Regions from separate parts of the Homo sapiens genome. Here all the other regions are linked to region 1. The links are contacts of gene promoters, found by promoter capture Hi-C in human tissues and cell types (Jung and others, 2019). All regions are on one chromosome and are shown on one strand. The core of a region is centred on a gene start or on the middle of the fragment in contact, and the rest is flanking DNA. Distances in the headings are between cores, read along the strand shown. Region 1 holds the start of SYCE3 (synaptonemal complex central element protein 3). Region 2 overlaps SBF1 (SET binding factor 1). Region 3 has its middle 8.1 kb from the start of SHANK3.

Region 1 (3,677 bases), core at 672-3,171:
TTTCAAGAGAATCTGAGAAGTAGAGTCTAGCTGTGTGTCCAGGGCGTAAAGGAAACATTTAGTGACAGTTGGTCTCAGATACACAAGGGCATGGGAAGACCAGCCTGACATCTTCCTGGGCTTCATGGCCTGGAGTTTGCAGGGTAGCCCACCTCCAGCTCCTGAGCAGGGTACTCAAGAGCCTGCACATTCCAGCTCAACTGATCTTTCCCGAGTCTTCTCTGTCCCTTACCAAGAACCCTGAGCCCAGAACACACTCGCCATTCCCCAAAGGAGGCAGGCTGAGCCACACCTTCGCCTTTGCCCTAGATGGGCCTTCTGCCTGGAATCCTGTGCCCTTTCTCCTACTCTCTCGGAAGCTGTCTTCCTTAGCCATCAGAATTATTCCTGATTCGGGCCAAGCACAGTGGCTCACACCTGTAATCCCAGCACTTTGGGAGTCCGAGGCGGGTGGATCACCTGAGGACAGGAGTTCGAGACCAGCCTGGCCAACATAGCGAAACCCGGTCTCTACTAAAAATACAAAAACTAGCTGGGCGTTGTGGCATGTGCTTGTAATCCCAGCTACTAGGGAGGCTGAGGCAGGAGAATCACTTGAACCTGGGAGGCGGAGGTTGCAGTGAGCCGAGATCGTGCCACTGCACTCCAGCCTGGGCAACAGAGCAAGACTCCGTCTCAAAAAAAAAAAAAAAGAATTATTCCCTATTCATGTTTCTCTGGGCTGCTGTAACAGAAATCGGCTCTGGGCTGTATAAGCAAATGGAAGTATGAAGAGCAGCTCACAGGTGGAAAGGGATGGCCAGAAAACCGGGTTCAACCGGGGCAGGAACCTGGCAGCTGGCGGAGGGAGTGTGGCCCAGGCAGCAGCCTCCTCAATAAACAAGCGAATGCTCACTCCTTGCCCAGAACTGTCTGGCTCAACCCCAGCCATTTTTCCTCCTCTGCAATCAGGCTGCTAAGAATCAGAATCCCTGAGAGAAAATTCAGGGGGTCTAAGGTTTGTCAGGATTCTCAAACACAAGGTGTTCAAAATCAAAGTTAACCTTCCAAGCTAGCTTCTCCCACTCTTCCACATCTCTGCCAGTGGTATCACCCCGGCCATTAGCCCCTTGCTTCTTTCTCCCTCCCTCCCACATTACCAAGCCCTGTCAAGTCGACCTTGGAATGGCTTTGACCCTGTCCACCACTCAGCCAAACAACAGCAACGGCCGGCCCCGTCGCCACCCGCCTCGGCAGCCAGAGACCTTTTAACTCTGCCACTCGCCTACTTACCACCCTTCTAGGGTGCCCACGTCCCTCTGAAAAAAAAGGCTGAGCTCAGACTGGCCTCTGGTCAGCCTCCTCCCAGCCAGAGCTTTCTGTCACTGCCCTTCTAGGTGTTGAGTGGCTCTGCTTCCAGTTCTTGCCTGGAGACCAGGAGCGCCCGGGAGGCCCCAGCACTTTCCAGCCCACATAGACCTGCGTGCACCTCTGCCTCGTCTCCCTGAGCCCGGGCTGCCTCCTCTGTAAGATACATGCCACATAATGTCCGCCACACATGATCGCTGTGACAGTGGAAATAGCTGGGCGTTCAGCGACTCATTCGACAAATGTTTACCAGCACCTTTGGTACCGGGCGCTGTCCTGGACACTGGGGACACAGCAGGCAAACGGGGCCCTGCGTATAAATCCTTAAGCTCAAGAAGGAGGTGGGGGCAAAACTGTCAGGCCGGGAAGCTCTTCATCTCCGCAGGATTCTCCCTCAACCTCAGGACGTCCCCAGCACCGCACCTGCCAGTCCCAGACTCGGACGCCGCAGACCTGTGGGAGCAGCGCGGAATGCCCCGCCCCTTTTCCCGAGGACACCCAATGAGGGCGAGAGGTCACTTCCGGGGAGGGTTCGCTAACGGAAAGGGCGGGGCATCCCTCTCGAGGAGCGGCCTTGTTCCTCAAGCGGCCGCTGGGGGCGCCAGAGCAGGACCGGAGCGCGGGCCAAGCTGGAGGTGAGCGAGGCCGCGCCCCCCTGGGCCCCGGCCCTCCCAACGCGCCCTGACGGCTGGGCTCCGCCTGACCCTGTCCTAGCGTTCGCGGTGGCACCAACCTCAAGCCAGACCCTTGACTTCGACCCAACTCCACTCACCCGACTCCACTCACTCCACACCCCATGCCCCTCCCCCGACGCCCCTCACCCCGCCTCACCCTTCACCCCTCATCGCTCACGTCACCGCTCACCCGCCTCCTCACCCAGCCTCGCCCCTCACCCCTCACCCCGCCTCACCCCTCACCCCGCCTCACCCCTCACCCCTCATCCCGCCTCACCCCTCACCCCTCATCCCGCCTCACCCCTCACCCCTCCTCACCCCGCCTCACCCGCCTCGCCCCTCACCCCTCACCCCTCCTCACCCCGCCTCACCCCTCACCCCTCACCCCGCCTCACCCCTCACCCCGCCTCACCCCTCACCCCGCCTCACCCTTCACCCCTCACCCCGCCTCACCCTTCACCCCTCACCCCGCCTCACCCCTCACCCCTCACCCCGCCTCACCCTTCACCCCTCACCCCGCCTCACCCTTCACCCCTCACCCCGCCTCACCCCTCCTTACCCCGCCTCACCCGCCTCGCCCCTCACCCCTCATCGCTCACGTCACCGTTCACCCGCCTCCTCACCCAGCCTCACCCCTCACCCCGCCTCACCCCTCACCCCGCCTCACCCCTCACCCCTCCTCACCCCGCCTCACCCCGCCTCACCCCTCCCCCGCTCCCCTCACTGCACACTCCATACCCCACTCTCCCCACCTTACATCCCTCACCTCAGTCCTTCACCCCCTTAACCTAATCTCCATGTCCTCACACCATACACTCCTGATCCTGAAGTCTGCACACCCTGGGCTTCTCATTCCGTGCAGCCTGCCCCTCTTACCCTCACACCTGCCACACCTGGGACCCCGGAGTCCACACACCACCTCACACCCCAAGTTCCCACACGCACCTCTGGCTTCCTCCACCTGCACTTCAGGACCCGCCCAGACTCTTCATAGCCCAACTCCAAGACTTCTCTCCCACATCACAGGTGCATTCCCTTCCTGTGCTGCTCTCATCCCGTACAAAAGAGCACATCTCTGCACCAAGCATCCCTCTTATCCCCTCACATTCCTTGTTCTCAGAGGGATCCCAGACTCTGTTAGAAACTCTTCGTACCAGGCAAGACACTCAGACCACAAACCAGACTCTAGGCTCTGACTCGCTCAACCCCCGTCCTTCACACCTAAAGTGATACCCAAGCCAGACCCTACACTCCCGCCCCACGCTCCCGCCCCACACTCCTCCCGCCCCACGCTCCTCCCGCCCCACACTTCCGCCACCCATCCTAAGCTCCGTTCCATTGTGCTTTGGTGCGGGCTCAGGCCTCTTTCTCCACCCGTTCCCAGTCATCCCAGGCAACCTCATTAGGCAAGAAATGCCGTGAATTCTAATCCTGTGGCTGCTTCCTCCACATCAGCTCTCACACCCTCTCCCTGGATCTCCTTTTCAGATCCATCCCTCTTCTGAGATCCAGTGCCACTCCGGCCCAGCCTCCATCCTTCTAGCAGTCTCATGCTCTATCCCCAAATCTACCTGTGGCCACCCCAACGCCCCACTTATAGAAACTACATGTCTTTTCTATGCCTCTGCTTCACCCCAACCATCAACCACCCCTTAA
Region 2 (3,677 bases), core at 845-3,344, 110 kb after region 1:
CCCACCCTCAGGTCCTGCGGCCCTACAGCAACGTGTCCAACCTGAAGGTGTGGGACTTCTACACTGAGGAGACGCTGGCCGAGGGCCCTCCCTATGACTGGGAACTGGCCCAGGGGCCCCCTGAACCCCCAGAGGAAGAACGGTCTGATGGAGGCGCTCCCCAGAGCAGGCGCCGCGTGGTGTGGCCCTGTTACGACAGCTGCCCGCGGGCCCAGCCTGACGCCATCTCACGCCTGCTGGAGGTGCGTGTGATCCCAGAGCAGGGTCTGGCCTGGCACCCCCCTCCTCTCGCTCAGACACCAGGGTCGTGCGTGTGTGTGTACACTCGTACATGCACGTAAGTCCGGTTACCCCTGGGGGTTGGTGTGGCCCTGCCGTCTCCCCACCATGTGAACTGCCTACTGGCCTGGGGTGGCTGTGGCTCCCCAGGGCCCCGCACCACTCAGTGGGTGCTTCCAGACAGTGACAGGAGGGCCGTCATCAGAGACCCTCAGGTCTCAGTACACAGCCTCCACTCTGAGCACGTGTGTTTTCCCTGACCTGGCTTTGAGCAGCTCAGGCACCTGTTGAGGAGTCAGCCCTTAGAGACGACAGTGTTTTACTCCCTCTGCCAGACCGCCTGCCCCACCTAACGTGAGCAGCTCTGGGTTCTTGCCCTGAGAGCTTGGGGTTGACATTGAGGCCTCTCTTACCCCTCACTGTGCCATCCCTGGTGGGCCTGGACTGAACAAGGCAGAGATGCCTGGGAGGGAGAAAGGAGACTGCGATTGGGTGGTGGCTGGGTTGGTGTGTAAGGCCTGAGGCAGTGTCCTGCGCGTGGTGCTACCTTTTGGGGCCATCCCGGAGTCTCTGTGGGACTGAGCAGGCAGAGGAGTGTGGACCTTGGACCTAGGCCACGGGGGGACCTGCACTCAGCTCCCCACTGTTGGCTGTGTGGCCTTAGAGGTTATCTTTTTTTTTTTATTTTGAGATGGAGTCTCGCTCTGTCGCCCAGGCTGGAGTGTAGTGGCGCGATCTCCGCTCACTGCAAGCTCCGTCTCCCGGGTTCACACCATTCTCCTGCCTCAGCCTCTCGAGTAGCTGGGACTACAGGTGCCCACCACCACGCCCAGCTAATTTTTTGTATTTTTAGTGGAGACGGGGTTTTACCGTGTTAGCCAGGATGGTCTCGATCTCCTGACCTCGTGATCCACCTGCCTCGGCCTCCCAAAGTGCTGGGATTACAGGCGTGAGCCACCGTGCCTGGCCTAGTTATCTAAGCATCTTAGAGCTTCTGGTTCCTTGTGCAGAAAGTGGAAATGCTGATTCCTGCCTTACAGGGAAGTTGTGAGGCTTAAATGAGTCATTTATTTCAGTGACTTAGCATGGGGCACAGGGTTTGGGGGAGTACGGGAGTCATGGTTTGTGATGGAGGTGACCCACAAAGCACAGACAGCAGTCCCTTTTTCTCTCTAGCGATGCTCATTGTCTTAAAGTTGACGCGGTCTCATTGGTGCTAACAGAGTCACTCAGCTTTGTCATGACCAGTGTCAGCTTGCTCTGTTGTTTTCTTGTATTTTTTACTGGTCTGTGTGTTTATGTTTAAGGTGAGTTTCTTGTACACAGAATGTAGATGTAGTTGGGTCTTCTTGTTATCCAGTCTAATGGGTTTTTTTAATTGGAATTTTTAGCCCATTTTAATTTACTGTTACTATTGATGTGGCTGGGTTTAAGTCTGTCATCTTGCTCTTTGTTTTCTCTTTGTCCCTTTGATTTTTTTTCCTTTCTTTCTTTTCTTTTTTTAAAAAACAAGTGTTTTTAGTATTCTGTCTACTGTGAGTTGAGCTGTACATCTCTGTGTTGTGTTTCAGGGGTTGCTGGGGGCTATAATCATCTGACTTGAAATTACATCACCCTGTTGACACCAGAAGAGCCTTACGGCAGTGTGTGTCCATTCATGCCTTTCCTGTCCTGTTACTGTCACACATTTTATTTTTACGTATGACATAAACACCCAGTATGGTTTTTTTTTTTTTTTTTTTTTTTTTTTTGAGAGATGGAGTCTCCCTCAGTCACCCAGGCTGGAGAGCGGTGGTGCGATCTCGGTTCACTGCAACCTCTGCCTCTGAGTTCAGGTGATTCTCCTGTCTCAGCCTCCCAAGTAGCTGGGATTAGAGGCACCCACCATCATGCCCGGCTAAATTTTTTTTGTATTTTTAGTAGAGACGGGGTTTCACTGTGTTGGCCAGGCTAGTCTCAAACTCCTGACCTCAGGTGATCCGCCCGCCTTGGCCTTGCAAAGTGCTGGGATTACAGGCGTGAGCCACCGTGCCCGGCCCTGTTTTTGTTTTAAATAGTCAACTTTGTTTTAAGGAAATTAAGAAAGAAGGAAAAAGTCTTCTATTTTTGCCATTTATAACATTCTTCATTCTTTCAGTATAATCTGGTCTGGTTATTATTTCTCTTCAGCCTGAAGAATTTTTAATATTTCTTGTAATGCAGAGCTGCCAGTCACAAATCCCCTCAGCTTTTGTTTATCTGAAAACATCTTGGTGCCTTTATTTTGCAAAGGGCATTTTCTCTGGATATGCATTTCTAGGTTGACAGCTGCTTCTTTTTTTTTTTTTTTTTTTTAATTCAGCAGTTAAACTGATGTCACTTTAAAAGATCTCATTACTAGGCTGGGCGCAGCGGCTCACGCCTGTCATCCCAGCACTTTGGGAGGCTGAGGCAGGTGGATAACCTGAGGTCAGGAGTTCGAGACCAGCCTGGCAAATATGGTGAAACCCCGTCTCTACTAAAATATAAAAATGAGCTGAGCATGGTGGCGGGTGCCTGTAATCCCAGCTACTCAGGAGGCTGAGGCAGGAGAATCGCTTCAACCCGGGAGGTGGAGGCTGCACTGAGCTGAGATCGCGCCACTGCACTGCAGCCTGGGCGACATGAGTGAGACTCTGCCTCAAAAAAAAAAAAAAAAAAGATATTACTTTGTTTTCTGGCCTGTATTGTTTCTGCTTAGAAGTTGGTGTTGATTCTTATCCTTATAAACTGTGTATAATGGCACCCTTTGATTCTCTGCCTTAAGATTTTGCATTTAATTTTGGCTTCAGCAATTTGACCATTGTGGTTTTTGCTTTCGTCCTGCTTGGGGCTCTTTAAACTTCTGGGTCTGTGGGATGATCATTTTTGTCAAATTTAATACATTTCAAGCCATTGCTTCTATAAATTACTTTTTCTGCATGATCTCTCCCTTTCCTTCTGGAACTTTATTGTCCCATACGTTGCTGAAGCTCTGTTTGTTTTTTCTCAGTCTTTATCTTTGCAATTCATTTTGGATGATTTCTGTTGGCTTGTCTTCAAGTTCACTACTCTTTTCTTTCTTGTTTTTAATATACTGAAGCCCATCAAATGAATTTTTTTTTAATTTCTTGAGACAGGGTCTTGCTCTGTTGCCCAGGCTGGAGTGCAGTGGCACAGTCATGGCTCACTGCAGCCCGAACCTCCCAGGCTCAAACAATCATCCTGCTTCATTCAGCCTCTTGAGTTGCCAAGACTACTGGCGTGGGCCACGTGCCGGCTACTTTTTTTTTTTTTTTTTTTTTTTTTTTGTAGAGATGGGGTCTCCCTATGTCACCCAGGCAGGTCTCAAACTCCTGGGCTCAAGCAGTCCTCTCACCTTGGCCTCCTAAAGTGCTGGG
Region 3 (3,677 bases), core at 610-3,109, 100 kb before region 1:
CTGAAAATACAAAAACGTAGCTGGGCGTGGTGGTGGATGCCTGTAGTCCCAGCTGCTTGGGAGGCTGAGGCAGGAGAATGGCGTGAACCTGGGAGGCAGGGGTTGCAGTGAGCCGAGATCGCGCCACTGCACTCCAGCCTGGGCAACAGAGCGAGACTCCGTCTCAAAAAAAAAAAAAAAAAAAATGAGGAGACTGGTTCCACTCTTGGGATCTATAGGAGAACTGTGAACTCAGGAGCTGCTGGTGACCGAGTGGTAGCCTTGAGAAGAAAGCCACACTACCACACTACGGCCGGCATCTGGGGCCTACCATCCTGAACGCACCTTACATCCAAAGCTAAGCAGGCTCGAGAAGAAAGTCACACTGGAAGAAATAGAGATTGGGAGACAGGGAAGGTTCTGAAGGGGTTTGAGTTTCTAATTTTAGTCCCTGAAATCTGATAGCACTTCTGCAGTTTGGTTTCAAGGAACAATACATTTCCCAGAGAAGTTCAAGAGCTGGACTTGGAGCAAATGCCCAGCTCAGCCACCAAATACCCAGGTGGCCTAGGAAAGCTTCCTAGCCTTCCTATGTCTCCGTGTGTGCTCAGCTAAGCTGGGGACTATAGTACAAACTGTTTCATTTCCTCATTCATTCTGGCCAGATGGCAGGCCTGGTTGAGATGCAAGGTGTCTGCCTTCAGAGGCTCACAGGTCAGTTCTCAGCCTCCTGGGCCATTGTGTGGACTAGATGAGGTACGTGTGTGTAAAATGCTTAGCACATGCCTAGTACCTGGTAAACACTCTAAATTTTATCATCATCAAAGCTAGTTCAGATTTTGGAGTGTATTCTGATGAGTGTGTTCTCCATATCTAGCAGCAAAACAGCAGCGTAAAGGGATGGCTGATCTTTGTTGTATATTCTTAGAAAGAGTGTTAAATTTAAAATACTGTTTTAACATTGAAATGTGGAATTAGCCGGCCAAGGTGGTTCACACCTGTAATCCCAGCACTTTGGGAAGCCAAGGTGAGCAGATCACTTGAGCTCAGAAGTTTAAGAACAACCTGAGCAACAAAGTGAGGCCCCGTCTCTACAAAATTACGGACATTTGCCAGACGTGGTGGCGCGTGCCTGTGGTCCCGGCTACTTGGGAGGCTGAGGCAGGAGGATCGCCTGAGCCTGGGTGGTCAAGGCTGCAGTGAGCCGAGATCACACCACTGCACTCCAGCCTGGGAGACAGAGCGAGACCCTGTCTCAAAGGAAAAAAAAACGTGAAATTAAAAGTGAGAAATATTTGTCTAGTTAATTTCACATTTAGGGTTCCGAGTATCTTTTCATTCAAGACGATGTGTTTTGCCTGTGTTTACCTCTCCACTCTCTCAAAGGCCACTGACAATTTAAGATCTATGTACCTATTTTTATTGTAGTGAAAAGCACATAACATGCAGTTCACCATCATAACCGTGTTTAAGGGTACAGCACAGGAGAGACAAAAAGAATGAATTCCCTGTTCTACTGATTTCCCCTTATCAGTGCTGCGCTTGACTAGTCTTATAAAATTAAAGATTTAAAAATTTTATATATATATATATATATTTTTTTTTTTTTTGATACAGAGTTTCATTCTGTCGCCCAGGCTGGAGTGCAATGGCACAATCTCGGCTCACTGCCACCTCTGCCTCCCAGGTTCAAGCAATTATCATACTTCAGCCTCCCTAGTAGCTGGGACTATAGGTATGCACCACCATGCCTGGCTAATTTTTGTAGTTTTAGTAGAGATGGGGTTTCACCATATTGGCCAGGCTGGTCTCGAACTCCTGGCCTCAAGTGATCCACCCACCTCGGCCTCCCAAATTGCTGGGATTACAGGCATGAGTCACCACACCTGGCCCTAGAACTATGTATATTTTTAAATAATAAATCCATCCTCATGTTAGAACCATCAAATGGGTTATGACTGGAATGACGCAGATGGGATCAGAGATGAAGAAGCCAACAAAAGCCAGAGAGTCGGCCATACCACAAGAAGGACGTCCGGGCTGCTGGGGAATGGCTTATTGGCCATTCACATAGCTTCTTTCGTGAAGTGTCTGTTCTAGTCTATTGCCATTTTTAAAAACTGAGTGGTTTGAGTTATTAAAATTTAGGAGCTCCTTATATAATCTGGATACAAGTTTTTTGTTGTTGTTGTTGTTTTGAGACGGAGTCTCCCCCTGTCGCCCGGGCTGGAGTGCAGTGGCGCGACCTCAGGTCACTGCAAGCTCCACCTCACGAGTTCCCGCCATTCTCCTGCCTCAGCCTCCCGAGTAGTTGGGACTACAGTGGCCCACCACCACACCCAGATAATTTTTTTGTATTTTTAGTAGAGATGGGGTTTCGCCGTGTTAGCCAGGATGGTCGTGATCTCCTGACCTCGTGATCCGCCCGCCTCGGCCTCCCAAAGTGCTGGGATTACAGGCGTGAGCCACCGCGCCTGGCCCTGGATACAAGTTTTTATAAGATATATGTATTGCAAAAGTTCTCTAATTTCTTGGCTTGCCGTTTCATTTTTGTAATAGCCTCTTTCAAAGAACAAAAGTCTTGCATTATTATAGAATTCAATTTATCTTTTTTGTTTAATCGTTCTCATATTCTTTGGGTTCACTCTAAAAAATCTTTGCCTACCACAAGATCACAAAAATATTTTCCTGTGTTTTATAGTTTTATTTTATTTCTTTTTTTTAAGAGATGGGGGGCCAGGCGTGGTGGCTCATACCTGTAATTCCTGGGAGGCCAAGGCGCATGGATCACCTGCGGTCAGGAGTTGGAGACCAGCCTGGCTAACATGGCAAAATCCCGTCTCCACTAAAAATACAAAAATTAGGTGGGCACGTTGGCGCACGCCTGCGTTACAGCAGGAGGATTACTTGAACCCAGGAGGCAGAGGTTGCAGTGAGCCGAGATCACGCCACTGCGCTCCAGCCTGGGCTACAGAGCGAGAATTCGTCTCAAAAAAAAAGAGATGGGGGTCTCACCATGTTGCCCAGGCTGTGTAGTTTTAGCATTTACATTTAGGCCTGTCATTAATTTCAAGTTAATTTTTGTTTTTGGTATCAAGAAAAGGTAGCTGTTCATATTTTTTTGGGGGGAGCATGTCCAGTTGTTTCAGAACCATTTTTAAGATTTTTAAATTTAGTTTTTATTGTGGTAAAATATACATAACAAAATTTACCATTTTAACAATTTTTAAGTATACAATTTTGTGGCATTAAGTGAATTCGCCACCATCTCCAGGACATTTTCATCACCCCGTATTAAACTATACTCACTGAACAATAAGTCCTCCAGTCTCCTTTCCACCCAGCTCTTAGAACCACAGTTCTGCTTTCTGTCTCCATGTATTTGACTATTCTAGGGACCTCTCAGCACCATTTTTAAAAAGACTTCCTTTTCCACTGAATTGCCTTTGCACTTTTGTTGAAAATCAGTTGTCCACATATGTGTGGGTCTATTTCTGGACTCTGTCTCTATTCTTTTCCTTTGATCTATATTTATAACTTTCTTCAATTCCATACTGTTTAATTTCTGTAACTTTATAGTAAGTCTTGAAAGCAGATAAGTCCTGTAACTTTGTTCTTTTTTAATTTGTTGGTTATTCTAGGTCATTTTTATTTCTATATAAATTTTAGGATCAACTTGTCAATTTCTAACTCCCCAA

The links. Contacts are between HindIII fragments. The study calls those that stand out against the background at their distance.
Region 2: a fragment that was not itself captured here is called in contact with the fragment with the promoter of SYCE3 in region 1 in 4 of the 25 tissues and cell types used here (IMR-90 fibroblasts, dorsolateral prefrontal cortex, heart right ventricle and 1 more).
Region 3: a fragment that was not itself captured here is called in contact with the fragment with the promoter of SYCE3 in region 1 in 2 of the 25 tissues and cell types used here (liver and lymphoblastoid cells).

What each region holds. Positions count from the first base shown.
Region 1 is chr22:50,561,163-50,564,839 of GRCh38, reverse strand. It overlaps SYCE3 (synaptonemal complex central element protein 3), which reads left to right and starts at 1,921. Exons shown (of 3, transcript NM_001123225.3): 1 at 1,921-1,982. It overlaps LOC107985568 (a long non-coding RNA gene), which reads right to left and starts at 1,879. Exons shown (of 2, transcript XR_001755606.3): 1 at 1,273-1,879. RefSeq lists silencers at 1,820-2,229, 3,300-3,498. The HindIII fragment of the contact is 12,147 bases long and covers 1-3,677 here.
Region 2 is chr22:50,451,077-50,454,753 of GRCh38, reverse strand. SBF1 (SET binding factor 1) reads left to right here. Exons shown (of 41, transcript NM_002972.4): 36 at 12-242. Among named protein-coding and RNA genes, the nearest start is that of SBF1, 22 kb to the left of the region's middle. The HindIII fragment of the contact is 3,854 bases long and covers 168-3,677 here.
Region 3 is chr22:50,662,897-50,666,573 of GRCh38, reverse strand. No RefSeq gene overlaps it. Among named protein-coding and RNA genes, the nearest start is that of SHANK3, 8.1 kb to the left of the region's middle. The HindIII fragment of the contact is 5,475 bases long and covers 1-3,677 here.